Linked DNA regions of Homo sapiens: region 1 is linked to region 2. Evidence: promoter capture Hi-C in 16 types of primary human blood cells and fetal thymus (Javierre and others, 2016). All regions are on one chromosome and are shown on one strand. Each heading gives the region's core, a stretch centred on a gene start or on the middle of the fragment in contact. The rest is flanking DNA. Distances are from core to core; before and after follow the strand shown. Region 1 overlaps NAV1 (neuron navigator 1). Region 2 holds the start of IPO9 (importin 9).

What was found. The method cuts DNA at HindIII sites, captures the fragments that hold promoters and counts their contacts. A CHiCAGO score of 5 or more calls a contact.
Region 1: a contact is called between a fragment that was not itself captured here and the fragment with the promoter of IPO9 in region 2, in 2 of 17 cell types (endothelial precursors and M1 macrophages). The highest score is 5.3, in endothelial precursors.

The regions. Positions count from the first base shown.
Region 1 is chr1:201,595,482-201,598,499 of GRCh38, reverse strand. All of the region lies in intron 2 of NAV1 (neuron navigator 1), which reads right to left. Among named protein-coding and RNA genes, the nearest start is that of NAV1, 58 kb to the right of the region's middle. The HindIII fragment of the contact is 2,865 bases long and covers 255-3,018 here.
Region 2 is chr1:201,827,252-201,830,447 of GRCh38, reverse strand. IPO9 (importin 9) reads right to left here and starts at 1,291. Exons shown (of 24, transcript NM_018085.5): 1 at 1,076-1,291. The coding sequence starts at 1,238. IPO9-AS1 (IPO9 antisense RNA 1) reads left to right here and starts at 889. Exons shown (of 3, transcript NR_046696.1): 1 at 889-1,497. RefSeq lists enhancers at 992-1,201, 1,213-1,507, 1,664-2,177, 2,178-2,692 and a silencer at 1,252-1,491. The HindIII fragment of the contact is 2,219 bases long and covers 621-2,839 here.

The sequences.
Region 1 (3,018 bases), core at 438-2,937, 230 kb after region 2:
TGTTCTCCCGGCCCCACGCCGCATGGCCCACTCACACCATTTCCACCCTGAGGCCAAAAAGACCTGATCGAATTGTGGTTCTGATAACGACCCTCCTACGGGGTAAAATCAAGTTTCTTGGGGGTCCTCTAAGATCCTCCAGCACTTGATTCCTCCCTATTTCCCAGACTCATCTCTCTGCCCTGCCTCATTCTTTATCTTCAAGTTTTACTGAATAGTTTATCATTTATCCACACACCACGAGGTTTCAAGCTTATCCTTAGCTAATTTCTATTCATCCTCCAAGCTCAGCTCAGACGTCATCCCTTCCAGGAAGGCCTCTCTGACCTTCTGTAAGTGGCCCTGAGCTGCCAGAGCACTGTGTACATAGCGTTGGCTGCTCAGTCACCAGGTATACCTGGCTCATCTCCAAAGCTGCCTTCTTGAAGAACACTTAGCTTTGGCCACCTGGCGCCTGGTATCATGCCTGGCACGTAGTAGACACTCAGTATATATTGGAGGCATTGACGACATCTTGACGCCCAGGCATCCTGCAGCTGAACTCCCTCCCCTTGCTCCCTGGCCAAGGTGGGTGGGGCCTACTTCCCCGACTCTGCTCTCTGGAATCTGGGGCAATGGAGTTGGGCAGGAGATGGCACACCTCACAGGGGAGGGGCCTGCCTCACCTCGTCACACTGGGCCAGGACATCACGGGCACAGCAGGAGGAAATGAGACACAGCTGCCAAGGAAACAGACCAGGAAATCTTCCCCGCGGAACAGGAAGCAGGTGGAGCATGGGGGCTGAGCTTCCGCAGGAGTGTGAGGGAGGAAACCCGGCTCCTGTGCCTCAGGTCCTCCCAGCTTGGCCCTCAGCCTGGTGGAGCAGGGGCTCTGCAGCCTGTGGGAAGGGGTCCTTATGGACTCCCAGCTTGGCCCTCAGCCCGGTGGAGCACGGGCTCTGCAGCCTGTGGGAAGGGATCTTTGCAGATCCTCTTCTCAGGCTTTAACCAGCGGGCCCCAGGGGCATGTTAGGAGATTATGTGATAGTCTGTAGTTTGCACAGTGAGCCTTGACCAGGAAGCCCCCAGGAAGACAGCTTAGCTGTCTTCAGAGTGAGGCCGGAGGGGAAGAAGGAGAGTGTAGGGGGGTATTTGGCCAAGGCCAATGTGTGTGAATCCTGAGAAATGCTGGGTGCCTTAGCTGGGTGAAGGCTGGGAAGCCAGATGGGACTGCAGAAGACCTAGAATGCTCCCTCTCCTCAACCCCCTTCACTGATTCTCCTCTTCGTCCTTAACTTCTCATCACAAGATCGCTTCCTCAGTGACCATTTCCCTAACCTCCTAGACTAGACCAATGTTCTCGTTGCTTCTCCCTTGTTAAAACCCACCCTGCCAGGCCAGGCACGGTGGCTCACGTCTGTAATCCCAGCACTTTGGGAGGCCGAGGCAGGAGGATCACTTGAGGTTAGGAGTTTGAGACCAGCCTGGCCAACATGATGAAACTCCATCTCTACTAAAAATACAAAAATTAGCTGGGTGTGGTGGTGGGCACCTGTGATCTTAGCTACTCAGGAGGCTGAGGCAGGAGAATTGTTTGAACCCAGGAGGCGGAGGTTGCAGTGAGCCGAGATTTCGCCATTGCACTCCAGCCTGGGCAACAAGAGCAAAACTCCATCTCAGAAACAAACAAACAAACAAACAAACAAAAAACAAACAAACTAAAAAAACAACCCGCCCTGCTTGTCCAACATCTTCCCATTGGGCTGGAAACTCTGTTGGGGCAGGGACCATATTTCGTTCACCACTCTATCTCCCACACCTAGTGCAGTCCTGTAAATATAGTAGATGTTCAATAAATATGGTGGAATAAGTGGCCACAGGAAGTAACTGGAGAATGATGGAAATGGGAATCTCATGACCAGGCACTAAGTCTGGGCCAAAGACAGAGCCAGAGAGTGACAGTGTCTGCCCTTTCCTGATCCATAAACAAACAAACAAACAAAAAGTCCTGAGGAGTTCTTTGAAAGTCCAGCCCATGAGCTGCTGTGGTTCTTTCACATGAGCCCAGCCAGTAACAGGACTGGCTTGACCAAGCTCCCTCTTCAGTGCATCCAAAACCCTGGGCTAACTTGAGCTAACCTCAGGGCTGGGGTTAGGGTACCCCAAAGAAGGGAAGAGAGTCCCTGTCATCAGGAAGCCCTTGGACTAATGAGAGATACACGAAGGTGCCCTTGGCAATTTCCCAGCCTGATGGGAGAGATGGGGTCTACAGGTGGACAGAGGCTCAAGAGAGAAATAATAACAGCAAACACTGATGGACACGTACCACATGCCAGGCATTGCTTCCAGCATTTTATGTGTATCAACTCATTTCATTTTCACAAAACCCCATTGGGTAGATAATGTTGTTGTTATCATTTTATGGTGAGAAAACTGAGATGCAGTGAGGTTAAGGCGCTTGCCTTAATCACACAATCAAGACGTGGGGTCGCTAAGATTTAAGCCCAGGCTGCTGGCTCCAGAGCTGATATTCTAAACCATGACTCCACAGCATCTCTGGTATGAGTGATGCACATAACTGAAGAGGACGCAGTCCCGAAGCGAAGTTAACCACAGTTAGTTAATGAGCATCCTAGAGGAGGAGAATGCTGCATCAGGAAGGACATGGCTTGGTGGAAGAGGCAGAAGAAGGGCACCTTGGTTGCAGGGGACACGTAAGTGATGACTGAGACAGCACAGGAAAATCTGCTTTCAACTCGGCCAGGAGGCAGAGAGATGGAATTTCTTCTCCCTTCCCTTGGCTGGAAGACAGTGGCCATGTTGGAGGCCAGCTTCTAAACCCAACTGAAATTCCCAGACCCAGCCCACTTGCTGTGACAGTGCACACTGCTGTGCCTGCCTGCCCCTACCCTGGCCCCACTATGCCCCCAGTCCCTGCCTCGGATTGATCAGAAACCTGGTATGGCCTGGAGAGGAGGGACCTGGTGAGCAGAGGTGAGAAACAGACTCGGCGCCCCTTGGCACTTGGGGGAGGGAGGA
Region 2 (3,196 bases), core at 42-2,541:
CTTTCATACTGTGAAAGAATGTAAACTAAATTTAAGAGAGATTTGTTCTAAATTCTTTTCAATAGAAATACGTCCAGTAGGAGAGCTAACTGAAGGTTTTGAATATGATGGGTGTGTGATGGGACAATTTCCCATATCTCTGATGAAGTATTTAAGTGGTGGTGGAAATATTCCTGAGTTGGGAGATTCTGAGGATTTGGAGTTCCAGTGAAGCTCTGACCAGATATATTTCTTACACAAAGACCAAGAAGATTTCTCCTCCTGTTTCTGGATTAAATTGTTCTTTGTGGTAGCTACACTGGACCCGGTGAAAGGCTCACGCGGCAGGAAATTGATAGAAAATCTCGAACCAATGGTTTATTTTCTTCTCCATCACTTTAAAGCACACAATAGAGGACGGAGACAAAGAATCAAAAACAAAGGATGATCAGTTCCTCCAAACAGAAATGCACAAAGGTATTTAATAAGGGCAAATTATTTTTAAAATAAACGTTAAGTATGGTCAGGACAGTGAAGCAATCGCATATGCATTTAATTTCTGGGAAAACACGAAGAGTACAAACAACTAGCTAGGTTTATAACTCAGAGGCAGAAACTTGTTTGATGACATCTATTAAGCTTTGATAGCCGCCTTTTCGAGGCCCTACCCTTCACCACTCCTACTAATAGCTCCCCCTACTCTTATCCCAGTACAATCCAGCTGGTGAAGAGAACAGCGAAAGACTTTGGTCCTGGACTCAAAAAATATTTCCCCGACCGCGCTACTTCCTCCAACAGCACCAAGTCTAGCTCCATCTCCGTCCCCTGCAGATTCTAGGCTCCATCTATCTTTTCAAGTCTCCACCCTCCCTCCCCCACTCCCAGGCTCCACCTCCCCCGACCCTATCCTTCAGGCGCGCCTCTCCTCTCTCGGACTTTCACAACCACCAGCGACATCAATCTCTCGCTTCCTGCTCCACTTCTCGGCGCCCACATCTCCAACTGGCTCAGGCTCCCCATGTCCCCAGCCGGTACGGAGCTGCGGTCAGCGGATTGTGCGGCTGAGCCATCCTCGTGACGGTCCCGCCTCACTCACCCTCCGTCACCTCCAGCACCTTAATCTGTTCTTCAGCAGCCGCCCGCACCTCCTGTACTGGGGATAGGATCCCGGTGAGCGTATCCACTAACGCTTCCTTTAATCCTTGTGCCACTGGACCCGGCAGCCCGGAGGCCGCACCAGCTGCCGCCGCCGCCGCCATCTTTTCTCCCCTCAGCCCGCCAGCCCCGCGGCCGGGACCCGCCACCGAATGACGGCCCCCGCGCGCGGCCAATCCGCGAAGCCGCGCCTGCGCACCAGAGGCGGGCGGGAGCGGGCGGAGGGCGGGGAATGAATCTAAGCCTCCAGAGACAGCGCCTCCTGCTGCCTGAACGAGAACTGCACCTTTCTCTGCAAGGATCTCTGGATTTGTGTGAAAACTGAGCCCCAGACAGGTTAAGGGGCTTTCCTAAAGTTGCACAGTAAGTTAGCAATCTCATTTGGAATAAAGTTCATGATATATGACTTTATATTCATGCATCTTTCAGGTGTTAGGAGAGAGGAGGCGGGATGGGAATAGATGTAGAGGGCTTTAAGGAGAGAGGTCTGGGTCACAAATAGCCCCTATTTTAAACCACATTCTTTTCCCCCCAAACACTGAAAAAAAGTTGGCTCAAGTGACTCTCTTCATCTTAGCCTCAGGAATCCAAAGAGGGGGGAAAATAAACTAAAGCAAACTGGGAAGTGGAAGTGGGAAAACCACGGCCCAGTCCCTTGGTTTTCCAGCCTAGATGAGCCCAACCTCAAAGCTGGGAAGTGGCTGGGCAGGGGAGACACCGGCATGTGAAAGGGAGTTTCTTCCAGAGTGAGTGTTGTATGTGACTATTTGAGAATGAATCCTATTTGTTGAAAATGTATAAATTTTTTTCCCTGAGAAATTATGGCTGGACATTTAAGGGGTGCGAGAACAAGAGCAGTTTGATGATATGGTTGTCAGCAGCTGGTCGTGGGAAATGGCCTACGGTGCAGAGCCGCTCCTGAATAGCGGAGCAGGTGGAGAGGATGAGCGCTCCAGTGAGGTGTTAAAAATGCAGGGTGTGGCGAGGCGCAGTGGCTCACGCCTCTAATCCTAGCACTTTGGGAGGCCGAGGCAGGAGGATCGCTTGAGCCCAGGATTTCGAGAACAGCCTGGGCAACATAGCGAGACTTCGTCTCTACAAAAAAATACAAAAATTGCCCAGGCGTGGTGGCGTACGCCCTGTAGTCCCGGCTGTTCGGGAGGTGGAGGTGGGAAGATCACTTGAGCCCAGGAGGAGGAGGCTGCAGTGAGCAGTGATTGCGCCATTGCACTCCAGCCTGGGCGACAGAGTGACATCTTGTCTCAGAAAAAGAAGAAAAAGCAAGATGTAAGCCAAGGCAGGAGGATCACTTGAGCCCAGGAGTTCCAGGCTGTAGTGTGCTGTCATCACACCTATGAATAGCTACTGCATTCCAGTCTGGGCAAGATATACAGACTCTGTCTATAAAAAAAAATAAAAATTAAAAAAAATGCAGGGCAGAGTGGCAAGCATGTAGTGGCAGAAAGGATAGAATGTTGTTGGAATGGGAGGTTCTAGAGCAAACAGAAACAGGTATTTTTTAGTGAGCTGTTCAGGTTATGTGCCTTCAAAATGGTTCCCAGGAACCCTTATCAAGTGAGTTCATTCTCACATGGCAAAGGAAACGAGTTACCAAATCCTAGGTCACTTCCAAGACTGTGGATGCTGGACTGGTAACAATCAGGGATTAAGTCATCTCATCAGAAGATTACTTCAAAAGAAAGCTTTCTCAATTATTTATTTTTGAGTTGGGGGGGTCTTGCTATGTTGCCCAGGCTGGACAGGTGATCCTCCCACCTCAGCATCCAGAGTAGCTAGAACTACAGGTACACCCACTGCAACTGGCTTGAAGAGAGTTCTCAACACACTTGTCACCTCCCATGTTAAGAGGGCAGAGATGAGTTATGTTACTACAATTTCATAGGGAAAAGATTGCTTCTTGGACCCTTCAATTTTGCAATGGGGAATAGTAAGCCTATTTACTTTCTTGAAGTGGCCAAAAGAAGTTGAACTTGATTACAACAGCTTCTAATAGGTCAGTTCACTTTTACCCCAAGAAGAAAATTTAGCAAAGTCAAGAGGG